2 separate regions of the Homo sapiens genome follow, and region 2 is linked to region 1. The links are contacts of gene promoters, found by promoter capture Hi-C in human tissues and cell types (Jung and others, 2019). All regions are on one chromosome and are shown on one strand. The core of a region is centred on a gene start or on the middle of the fragment in contact, and the rest is flanking DNA. Distances in the headings are between cores, read along the strand shown. Region 1 holds the start of COIL (coilin). Region 2 overlaps C17orf67 (chromosome 17 open reading frame 67).

Region 1 (6,443 bases), core at 1,642-4,141:
TTCCCTAACCATTTTGTTCCATGCTGATCTCCCTTTTCTCAACCAGCTTCTGCACTTACCATATAACTTGGTCTAACTATTCAGTCTAATTGTCTGTATCACAGAAGGTAATATACAAAAGCATGAGACTCATTATTTGGGTCCCAGTCCAACAATATTGGGTACTTTGAGAATAGAGACTATGTGTTCTTCCGTAGCTCTGAAGAAAAGTGAATTTGCCAGGGAAAAACAATGATTGTGGACATAAAACAACAAAAACAAAGACGAACTTTCCAGATTCATCTTTTTCTACGGTCTGCCCATTTGCCACTGAAGCCACTAGAGAGGTATTTTTTGCCACATGCAGCTGTGCATTTGAAGCATTTAGGAAAGATTTGCCTGTCATCGTGTTGTAATTATTACTTATAACAGTTTTCATGGTTTGTTTTTGTCATTGTTAACTTCATTATGAAGAATGTAATGCCCACATGATTCATTAAAGTATAATTATAGTTAGCACAAGTTATTAACTCATTAGGCAAGAGACAGTTCAGAAAGTAAACTTAATAGGATGGGACACAATCCTTAGAATTGTAACATTTAAATAATCCTTGAATTGCAGAGAGAATAGAGACCTATTTCACAGTCAATAAAAAGGGGGAAAAAAAACTCTTTGAAATTTGGATTATTTCAAATTGTCATTTGAAACAGTTGAACATTATTCAATAAATCATAATATCCTGATTTAAAGATGCAGTTACTGTTCCAAATTAAATTCCCTGATGTTCTGAAGAAATCTTACGGAATCTGACATGCTTGAGGGTAAGGAATATTCAACGACAAAGGGCAGCAAGAGAAAATAGCCTGGTTCACAACTCTGGAATTAATTCACTGTAGCTGAAGCTTAAAGGGGGTGGGGGAAGGAAGGCTGGCACAGTGGCTTACGCCTGTAATCCCAGTGCTTTGGGGGGCTGAGGTGAGAGGACAGCTTGAGCCCAGGGATTCGAGACCAGCCTGGGCAACATGGCGAAACCCTGTCTCTACAACAAATACAAAAATTAGCCAGGCGTGGTTGCCTGGCCTGAAGTCCCAACTACTCGGGAGGCTGAGGTGGGAGGATTGCCTGTGCCCAGGAAGTCAAGGTTACAGCAAGCTATGATCGTACCACTGCACTCCAGCCTGGGCATGGGAAACCCAGTCTCTTTATTTAAAAAAGAAAAAAAAAAGTCTGAATAAATCAGTCCAAGATATGAATCCAAACTGGAATGATCAGATACCATCATCTTACTGTGGCAACTCAACCACATTTCAGCAATTCACACTACAATTGCTCCTGGATACTCATCTCATTATCATTTTTTTAACTTCCAAAAGCATATTTAAGATTATTTTGTGTTTCCCAATTTACAGCCCAAAAGGACTCAAGACACTTATTTGAGAGAATCCCAAAATGTCTGGGTGAGACACAAAATGATACGCCACCAGAAGTCTCAGGGGACACTGGGCACATGAGAACTAAGGCTGGACAACAGCAGGTTATGAAGAAAACACAACGATTCCCCTTTGTCAGCTTCCTGCACCTGACCCTGAAGGCCGCCATGGGTAAGGCCGGGTCTCCGGCACATCTGCACCATGGGCACGCAACAGAGTCGCACAGTGCCTAGCTAAGCGCGGATGTGCTAAATCAAGGCTGAAAGAAAGCCTGGCCCTGCCCTTAGGCATCAGGGATTTTCCAAGTTTGATTCTCCTGTCATCAGAAGCATCCCGGGAAGGATGCTCGTTACACTGCAGATTCCAGCCAGGCGCGGAGGCTCACGCCTGTAATCCCAGCACTTTGGGAAGCCGGGAGGATCACTTAACGTCAGGAGTTCAAGACCAGCCTGGCCAACACGGTGAAACCCCGTCTCTACTAAAAATACAAACAAACAAACAAAAAATTAGCCGGGCATGGTGGCGCCCGCCTGTAAGCCCAGCTACTCGGGAGGCTGAGGTGGGAGGATCGATTGAACCCGGGAGGTGGAGGCTGCAGTGAGCTGAGATCGCGCCACTGCACTCCAGCCTGGGTGACAGAATGAGACTCAGTCTCAAAAATAAAAATAATAGGGGCAGGATGCGGTGGTGCACGCCTGCAATCCCAGCACTTTGAGAGGCCGATGCAAGCGGATCAACTGAGGTCAGGAGTTCGAGACCACCTTGACCAATATGGTGAAACCCCATCTCTACTAAAAATACAAAAATTAGCCGGGCGTGGTGGCGGACGCCTGTAGTCCCAGCTACTCGGGAGGCTGAGGCAGGAAAATTGCTTGAACCCGGGAGGTGGAGGTTGCAGTGAACCGAGATCGCGCCACTGTACTCCAGCCTGGGTGACAAAGCAGGACTCCGTCTCAAAAAAAAAAAAATAATAATAAAAAATAATAATAAAATGCAGATTCCTGAGCCCCAAAGTTGACTACACCAATCAGGATCTCCGGGGTTCGCGAACGTGCATTTTTACAGCCCCACCCCCCTCCAACCCTCGTCCCCTTCCCCATCCCCCATCCCCTCCACTACCAGGTCTAGCGGCTTCAGGCCCGGGCGTGCGCAGGCGCGTCCCCCGCCCGCCGCCCACCCGGCCGTCCCGCTCCCTGCGCCGCGCACCTGAGGCAGTCGTTGTCTCTCACAAGGCGCGCGCTCTCGGCGGGGGGCAAGAGCCCCCCCTCCAGGTAGAGGCCTAGGAAGGCCCCAGAACTGAAGCCGAAGCGCTGGCGGATGAGACTAATGAGATCTGTGACGACTCGGCATCTGTTCAAGTCGACCAGAAGCCAGAAGGCCGTACAGTGCGGGGTAGCTGGCGGCGGGTAATCAAATTGAAGCCGTAGCCTAACCGTCTCGGAAGCTGCCATCTTGCTTGGTGCTCAACGGAAGCCGAGAGATACCACGGGGCCACCGAGAGGCGTGCTCGGGCGGCTCGCCCCCGCCGGAGCCTTTGGCGTGTGCCACCTAGTGGTGAAACCTGGCTACTACAGGCTGCGTCTAGGCGAGAACTCGGAGCGTGGTTGATTTCATTCAATTTTGTTCACGGCAGGGCTGAGGAAGGGAATAAGTGAAATGCCTTTATTACATTTCTACTGGGCGCTATGTAGGGTCTCCTAATTAAGGCAACTCTCTGGATAAATAACATTTCTCCTCAGCAGTAGTCTTCTAAGATATTTGCTCATCGACGTGAAAGATTTTTATAAAACAATCCTAACACATTTCGCTGACAAAATTTTTCATCATGATGAGTTGAAAAAGATGTAAGTCCTAGTGTGTTCTCAATGTTGAAATTTTGAAATAACACTGTTAATCATTCTTCCAAATGTATCCAGTGGAATATAAATACCTTAGCCTTTTAATACCCACCACCAAACAAAAATGTCCTTGCATTTCTCACCAGATAAATAAATCAGTATTTACATTATTTCTTCTATTTTTTGAACTAGAATTTACATTTCTCCACATAATATATATTAACTCCTTTAATTTTCATAACAAAAGTTAGGAATTATGAACTGTTATCCTTATTTAGAGGATTTAAAAAAAACAAGGTTCAGAGAGTTTAAGAAGTAACTAGAGGCCAGGAGCAGTGGCTGACGCCTGTAATCCCAGCACTTTGAGAGGCCAAGGTGGGCGGATCACTTGAGACCAGGAGTCTGAGACCACCCTGGCCAAAATGGTGAAACCCCAACTCTACTAAAAATATAAAGATTAGCCGGGTGTGGTGGCATGTGCCTATAATTCCAGCTACTCGGGAGACTGAAGCAGTAGAATCGCTTGAACCCAAGAGGTGGAGGTTGCAGTGAGTCAGGATCGTGCCACTGCACTCCAGCCTGGGCAATAGAGCAAGATTCTGTCTTAAAAAAAAAAAAAGGAGTAACTTCCCCAAGTTCACTAGACTAGTTAAGTTGTAGATACCAGGGAGTCAGTAGATGAATTGAAAACAAAATTTTTTAACTGAAAGTAAGGGTTTTTGGATTTTCTTTTTTTAGAGTCTTGCTCTGTCACCTAGGCTGGAGTGCCGTGGTGCACTCTGCCTCCCGGGTTCAAGTGACTTCCCACCTCAGCCTTCCTAGTAGCTGGAACCACAGGTGTGAGCCACCAAGCCCAGCTAATTTTTGTATTTTTTGTAGAGATAGGGTTTTTCCATGGTGGCCAGGCTGGTCTCGAATTCCTGAATTCCAGCAATCTGCCTGCCTTGGCCTCCCAAAGTGGTGGGATTACAGGCATGAGCCACCACCTCCGACTAAAATCAAGTTTATTAGAGAATTAAAGGAATAAAAGAATGACTACTCCATAGACAGAGCAGCGAGCCCATACTATAAGTATACTCAGTCAAGTATACTTATAGTTACTTCTTGACTGTATGCTAAACAAAGGATGGATTATTCATGAGTTTTCTGTATCCCTAGGAAAGGGGCAGGGATTTCCCTCAGAACTGAGGGTTACTCCCCTTTTACACCATACAGGATAACTTTTGGGCATTTCCGGCTGGGCGCAGTGGCTCACCCCTGTAATCCCAGTTTCTCCACATCCTGACTACCATTTGGCATTGTCACTATTTTTTAGTCATTCTGGTAGATGTGTTGTGGTATGTTGTGGTTTTATTTATTTGTTTGTTTGTTTTGAGGCTGGGTCTCATTATGTCTCCAGTGCTGAAGTGCAGTGGCGTGATCACAAGGCTTACTGCAGCCTTCACCTCTGAAGCTCAAATGAACCTCCCACTTCAGCCTCCTGAGTGGCTGGGACTACAGGCATGCACTGCCATGCCCTGCTAAATTTTGTAATCTTTGTAGAGACGGAGTTTTGCCACATTGCCCAGACTGGTCTCAAACTCTTGGGCTCAAGCTATCCTCCCACCTCAGCCTCCCAAATATTGGGATTACAGGCATGAGCCACCATGCCCAGCCTCTTGTGGTTTTAATTTGTATTTTCTAATGGCTAATAATGTTGAACATTTTTCCTGTGTTTATGTGCTTCTTCAGTGAAATTCTCTTCAAGTCTTTTACATCTACTCTTATTAGATTGTTAAATTTTGAGAGTTCTTTATGTATTCTAGATAGTAGTACTGAGGCAGGAAAATAGGATCTGGAGGCAGGGAACATAAGGCCAATTCACACTTCAGCTGTGACAGGAAATATCCTCTTCATTTACATAGGGCATACGAGGAGTAAATGACTTTCTAACTTTACCTCATCCTCTCCATTTACATAGGACATACACCAAGAAACCAGTGGAAACCTCTGGAGGGTATTTAAGCCCCCAAAAATTCTGTAACAGGGCCCTTGAGCCCCTATGCTCGGGCCTGCTCCCACCCTGTGGAGCGTACTTTCATTTTCAGTAAATCTCTGTTTTTGTTGCTTCATTCTTTCCTTGCTTTGTTTGTGCGTTTTGTCCAATTCTCTGTTCAAGATGCCAAGAACACCCTCCACCAGTAACAGTACTTTGTCAGATATGTGGATTGCGGATTATTTTCTTTGACTCTGGAGCTTTTTTTTTTTTTTAATCATTCTCTTAATAGGGCCTATCACAGACCAAAAGTTCTAAATTGTGATGAAGTCTGGTCGATCAATTTTTTCTTCACTGCTACCTCTGCCTCCCAGGTTCAAGTGATTCTCCTGCCTCAGCTGCCCGAGTAGCTGGGGACTACAGGCACCCGCCACCACGCCTGGCTAATTTTTGTATTTTTAGTAGAGATAGGGTTTTACCATGTTAGTCAGGCTGGTCTTGAACTCCTGACCTCCGGTGATCTGCCCACCTCGGCCTCCCAAAGAGCTGGGATTACAGGCGGGAGCCTCTGTGCCCAGCCTGTTTGTTTTTTGTTCTGTTGTCCAGGCTGGAGTGCAGTGGCAAGATCATAGCTCACTGCAGCCCCTACTTTCTGGGCTCAAGCAATCCTCCCAGCTCAGCCTCCCAAAGCAGTGGAATTACTCGTGTGAGCCATAGCCTGAGTTAATTTTTGTGTAAGAGTTATATCAGCGTTCATTTTTGTTTGTTTGCTTGCCTCTTGATGTCCAATTGCTCCAGTACTATTTGTTAATAACACTATATGTCCTCCATTTTGAATCTTTTGAATGTTTGTCAGAAATCAGTTGGGCATATTTGTGTACATCTATTTCTGGATTCTCTGTTCTGTTTCATTGATCTATATGTCTTTCCCTCCACCAACACCATACAGTCTTTTTTCTTTTCTTCTTTTCTTTTTTTATTGAGAGGGAGTCTCACTCTGTTGCCCAGTCTGGAGTGCAGTGGCGTGATCTTGGCTAACTGCAACCTCTGCCTCCCAGGTTCAAGCAGTTCTCCTGCCTCAGCCTCCCGAGTAGCTGGGACTATAGGTGCGCACCACCACGCTAGACTAGTTTTTGCATTTTTAGTAGATACAGGGTTTCATAGGTGTACACCACCATGCCAGGTTAATTTTTGCATTTTTAGTAGATATAGGGTTTCAC
Region 2 (6,443 bases), core at 3,371-5,870, 150 kb before region 1:
ATCTCTGAAAATGTGGGGTCAAGTTTATTCTGAATATTCTCATAACCAATTTCTCTACCCCTGCCACTTCCACATTCTAGCCATTCCCTTGCTCTCTTGTCAGCCCCCACCACCCCATACAACACATCCCTGCCATCCACCATTCCCTCAAGGAACTACTAACACAAAGTTTCTGTATGTAGCGGACTTGTCCTAAGGTTTGGGGGTAGCAGTGGGTAATAACAGCACAGAGCAGAAAGCAAATTTAAACTCAGTGTCCAGAGTTACCATAAAATAAATGTATCCGTTATTCCTGCTGCTGGGAATTTCAGTGGGTTGCCCTCCTTGGGTTCTACCTTCCCACCTTTCTCTTCATACGCTACCTCCATATGCTGCCTCCATACACTCAAAATCCCTCCTTCTCTCTTACCCAGAGCCATCTGTCTCCCTCTGATCTCCCTCTCCATCCCCTCTGGGCCTTGCCTTCCTTCATCTAGGTTCCCCGCAAGATGTCCGTGCTCCTCTGGGTTGAATACTGGCCCTCCCTACAGTACAGGGTTACCCAGCAATCTTCTCAAAAGCACTTTGTCCTTCCCACCACCAAGTCAGAAAAGAACAGCTTGTTGCAGTGAATCAGCAGGATCTATGTCAAACAGTCTAGCCCTTTGTGTGCACGGGCACAGCTTGTCTCAACCTGTTTTCAAAAAGCCTATAAATCCACAGAAGCCAACCTCTGCCAATATTTAAGCCAAGTGTTAAGTGTATAAACATGGCTCAGTAGATCTTCATGAGGAGAGACTTCTGCAAATCTTCATACTTGTTTTCATTTTGAATTCTTAACACCTCCCCTAAAGCACCATTTGTTTACCCTCATCAATGGCCTCTTCCCTCTCTGGAAGTGTTTTCTTTTGCACAGTCCCTTAACATGGAGAAGCAAAATAAAATAACCTGACCAGTCATCTCTCGGTGATTTAGTGTGGAGGGGTGAGTGTGAGGGTATGTGGCTCTGTTCTCAAGGGCACATGCATTCTCCAATGATCACTAACTCTACTCATTTGCCCAAGTCCACTTGTTTGTCTCCTGGGTACCATGGCAAGAAGGTGCAATAGCGCATCCAAAACGTCACTTCCTATTTCCCAGGTATGACAGCATCTAAAGGCAAGCATTTAAGAGGCTGTGTCCTGAACCTCTAAAGGGCCCCTGGAAACAAGATCTAATCACATCATTCCCCTGCTTGAAATCCCTGCACAGCTCCCTACTGTGTACAGAAACCCAACTCTGCTGTGGCATCCAAGTACCTTCCAACCCAGCCTCACAACAACCTGGCGATGCCATCTGCCATCATTCCACAAAACCCAGGTCCGCAAGTCAAGGCGAAAGTAGAAGAGGGGGCTGGAACTCAGACCTTCTGAAAAAATACTCAGTAAGGCCTTTTCAAAACACACACACACACGAACCCTCACACACCCCTCACACATACACCCTCACGTACACCCCTCACACACACCCTCACACATACACAGCCTCACACACACCCCTCACACACACCCCTCACACACAACCCTCACGCGCACACACACCCACACACACACCCTCACACACAGACCCCTCACAGACTGCTCACACACAGACCCTCACACACACCTATTACACACATTCACACACTCCTCACACATACACCCTCACACCCCTCTACACACATACACCCTCACACACACCCCTCTACACACACACCTCATACACAGACCCCTCACACACCCCTTACACATACACCCTCACACACTCACACACCCCTTACACATACACCCTCACACACACCTGCACCTTCACACACCTCTCACACACACCCCTTACACACACCCTTACACACACCCTCACACACCCCTCACACATACTCCTCACACATACTCCTCACTCACCTCACACACAATCCTTGCACAGACCCTTCACACACACACCCCAGACATCCCTCATACACCCTCACACATGCATCCCTCACACACACCCCTCACACACCCCTCACACTTCTGACACACACCCTCACACACCCCTCACACTTCTGACACACACCCTCACACTCCTTGCACAGACCCCTCACGCACACCCCTCACACCCCCACCTCACACACACTCCTTGAACACACCCTTCACACACACACTCTCACACACACCATCACACCCCTCACATACATCCTCACACACATGCATCGCTCTCCCACACTCCTCATGCACCCTCACACACCTTCACATACTCCTCACACACATACCCCTCATACAATTCTCACATTCGAATACACACACCCTCACACACACACCCCTCACACATCCCTCACACACACAAACCCCTCACATGCACAAACCCCTCACACACACCCCTCACACACACCCTCATACATACCCTCATACACACACCCCTCACACACATTCACACACACATACACACATACACAATACTGGCAGCCAAATTCACAGCATGGTGCATCCATCCCACCCTCTTCCCAAGCAAAGGGACATCTGTGCGCAGCTGTTCTTGGCCTACACTCAGAAACAGGGAGGGTGAGGAGGTCTTGGCAAAAGGCAAAGAGCCAGAAGGGCTGGCTCCCAGGAGGCAAAGGCCTTAGCCTCTGAACTCCCTCCTTCCCAGGCTATGAAGATGTGGGCCCGTATGGCAGCTCTAATGCCAGCCTCTGGCCTCCCCTGGCCAGAGGTCCAGGCTTATCGGCTCCTCACCACCCAAGGACAAACCTGAGGCCACTGCCTCTTATGCTCCAACTGGGAGTGCAGGGCCAGGATCATTTTGACAGTCACAGTTAAATGCAGTAAATTACCTCTTTTTACATGCCACTGACTGGCATTATTAATTTTGCTTTCAGTAAATCCATAAAAGAAGAAGTCAACAAGGAGACCCAAGAGGCGTGAGTGGGTCAAATGGTAAGTCGAGGATGTGGAGTACTCCCAGCCGCAGGGCCAGCATGAGGTGAGGAGGCCTGTGGTTTCTAGGGATACCCCTCCAGGGGCCTCAGAATAAACTGCCTGACTCCTCGCTTGGGTTGGTATCCTGCTGCCTCTGGCTCTTCTGTCACATTGCAGACTGGCACCAGGAAACCTGTGTCAGCCCCAAGGTTCTATCCAGAGCCCTACAATATGAGACCTGGAATTAGACATTCTGGAATCTAGGCCAGATTCCAGCCAAACTCTGCATTTTATAGATGAAAAAACTAGGCTTCCAAAAGAGGAAGTGACTTACCCAAAGTCCACAACTAGTTAGCGGCAGAATATGGACTGGAAATGCACTGGGTGGAATATTCTTCCTGCCTCATCCCTACCCCCTGCCCTGCCTGAGAACTCCTGGTCATCCTTCAAGCCACAGCTGGGTGGGCACCTCCTCTGGGAAGCCTTCCCAGCCTCCCCTTTCCTTCCAGTTGGAGCTCGAGACTCTCTTCTTGCAGAGCCGCAGTCCATTGTACCAGATAACCTCGTTAGTGAGCCCAAATCAGGCTGGGGCTCGAGACTCTCTTCTTGCAGAGCCGCAGTCCATTGTACCAGATAACCTCGTTAGTGAGCCCAAATCAGGCTGGGGCACTCTGGCTCCACCTCCACACAATGGGCACCTTGAGTAAGGAAGAATGTCTGGTTTATCTTTCATCCTCAGTCCCTGGTGCTTAGTAGGGCATGGTCAATATAAAATCTAATTAAGTGCACATCTTGATCAGCACGCACCACTTGACCCTCTCACTCTCTCTTTTTGTCTAAACAACTAAGATACTCTCCATACCACCCAGTTCAACATTTAACAGCTTTCTAAATGCTTTTATGTTCCCAACTAGACCACAGGAGCTGGTACACACGTGGCTGATTTCTCCCAGATGGCCTAGCCCAGTGGTTCTCAGCCTCGGCTGCAGGTTGGCATCACTGGGGCTTTGGCCCCATCCCCCATACCCAGGTCCCACCCCAGGCCACCCCTCTGGGAGTGGGACCCAGGCATCGGAATTTAAATTCCCCAGGTGGTTCCAGAATGTAACCAAAGTTAAGAAACACATTTCTAGAAAAAATACGATACCAGAAACTATTTGTTAATTCAACCAATTCTGTGTGTGTTCAAGTGAGTGCAATTATAGAGAGAGACAGAGAGAGACACACACAGCGTGACAGAGAGTAAACAAGAAAAAGTTTACTTGGCAATGTGTAGACTTGGTTCCTCTCCTTTGGCACTACTGACATTTTGGGCCAGAGGGTGGTGGAGGCTGCCCTGTGCCCTGTGTAGGGTGTTTAGCAGCATCCCTGGTCTGTACCCACTGGGTGCCAAAAGCAATGCCCCACACAGGTGTAACCACCAAAAATGTCTTCAGATATTGTCAAATGTCCCTGGGGATGAGGGGGCATAATCACCTATGGATGAGAACTACTGGTGTAGACTAGCCACCCAATAATTGACTGCATGTTTGTTTCACATTTCAATTGTAAAACATATGACCACTTTTCCAAACTGGACTGAATGCCTGAGGATTCTGGACATTGGATGAAGTGTCTCTGAGAGGGACATGGAGGATGGGATGGTGGCTCAGCAATAGGTTCTGAGGCAAGAAGGAGTTACATGGAAACTAATCAGGTAGGTTCGAGGCAGTTAAGAGGAGCAGGTGGTGGTCAAGCCTATAAAAGATGAGCAAAACAAACCAGAAAAAGCCAGATATTCAGTAAAATTGCAAAGTTGGAAGCAAGCAGAGGGCTGTCAAGGATTAAGGGAGGTGATGACCACAAGTGGGAAAAAGCAAACAGAGGAGAAGCTTTCAGAAGTTTTTGAGCAGGGGAAGGACCACACAAAACAGGGTTTTAGGGCCAGAGTCTAGCCTGGCAACAACAGTTGCAACAACGGGCTGCAGCAATTCAAACCCACCTGTTCACCCACATCTACAATGCCTCAGTTAGGACAAAGACTGTTATTCCACAGACAGAGTTCAAAAGAGCCAGGTGCAGATGCTGGCACAGAAAATGTCAGGGGGCAGATGTGGGAGTCATTAGAGCTGCCTCTCGAGCACCTTGAGCAGGAGCCACTGCTTTGAGGACTCTTCAACCAGCTCCCCCAGCCCCTGCCGGGTCCCTGAGGAAGAGCTGCAGAATGGCCGCTCCAGGCATCATGCCAAAAGCACAGGGGGCCAGCCAGAGCCCCCACCCCCAACCCGCCAGCCGCCAACAGGATCCCTCCCTCCAGGCATCCTCCTCCCCATCACAGTTGTGCACATGCTGCCCTTCCTTCACCCCAGCCCCTCCTATGCCTCCCCGCCTTGCTCTGCCACCCCCACTCTCTTGGCTTCTCTATCTCTCTGCATTCCTTCTCAGCCCTTTCAGGGTTCCTCTTCCCCTGCCCACCTCTGAGTGTTGGTGATCCCAGACTTCAATCATGGGCCCCTTCTCTCATTGTCTCAAACTCTCTAACACCCAGATCTGTACTCCCCAACTTGAAAAATCCTTCAGTTGTTCTCTACTAGATACAAGATAAAACCCAAGATACCTCTTATTCTACAAAAAAAAAAAAATTAAAAGCCACATCTATCCCTAAGAGCCTGAAGTCATCTGTTCTTAAATCATACTGCATAGCAGCCATTTGCTTACTTCTGTCTCCACCACAGACTTTGAGCAGAAACCTACAGCCCCGGCACCTAGCAGGTACCAGGTACTTAATACTCAGAGGAGTACTTACCATTTGCTGAGCACTTTCTAAGTGCTTTCTTAAAAAGTACTTTGTTTTATCATCATAAAATAATTATTTTACATTATTATTTATAATAATAATATTATAGTAATATCAGCAATAGTATTTATTATCCCCATTTTATAGATGAAAGTACTGAGCTGCAGAAATGTGAAGAAACTTCCCCAAACTTACCCAGTTAGTAAACAGGGAGATTCAAACCCAGTCTGACCCCAAAGTCAGCACTCTTCGTCACTGTGCAATACTATATCTTAATAAGAGCCTTTAAATGAAATAATCTAATTATGCACGAGATTTTGCAGTGAATGAAGGTAAATGCTACTGCAGCTCCTTCTGAGCCTCAACATGGAGATTCAGGGAAAACAGGATAAGCATCGTGCCCAGATGAAGGGGCCAGGATGGGAGACCAGCCTGACAGACAGGCTTCCCAGACATTCTAACTTTGCTGGGTCACTGCTACTTCCCTTCACTGGGTGGGGCTAAAATGCCACCAAAGTCAGTATCATTTTAGCAACAGGAGGAACCAAGCCAGGCCTGAATTGGGTCCGGGGCCAGCATAGCAGGGTCTAGTAACATCTACTCACAGAGGGAGCCTGGTTCAGAAAGACTAGACAGGTGGATATCATGACCCCACAGGGCAGAAGTAAGGCCAGAGACCAAAATCAGAGGGATGAGATCAGAGCAGAACCCCTCAGGCAGCTGGGGCAGAGATTCTCCCTGCCTGGACAGACCATCATTGACCAAGGATGCTGGTC

The links. Contacts are between HindIII fragments. The study calls those that stand out against the background at their distance.
Region 2: a fragment that was not itself captured here is called in contact with the fragment with the promoter of COIL in region 1 in 1 of the 25 tissues and cell types used here (spleen).

What each region holds. Positions count from the first base shown.
Region 1 is chr17:56,958,159-56,964,601 of GRCh38, forward strand. COIL (coilin) reads right to left here and starts at 2,892. Exons shown (of 7, transcript NM_004645.3): 1 at 2,617-2,892. The coding sequence starts at 2,861. LOC105371836 (a long non-coding RNA gene) reads left to right here and starts at 2,990. Exons shown (of 4, transcript XR_934875.4): 1 at 2,990-3,254. RefSeq lists a silencer at 2,494-2,603 and enhancers at 2,730-3,024, 2,774-2,913, 2,924-2,973. The HindIII fragment of the contact is 17,787 bases long and covers 1-6,443 here.
Region 2 is chr17:56,808,066-56,814,508 of GRCh38, forward strand. All of the region lies in intron 6 of C17orf67 (chromosome 17 open reading frame 67), which reads right to left. Among named protein-coding and RNA genes, the nearest start is that of C17orf67, 23 kb to the right of the region's middle. The HindIII fragment of the contact is 6,914 bases long and covers 1,164-6,443 here.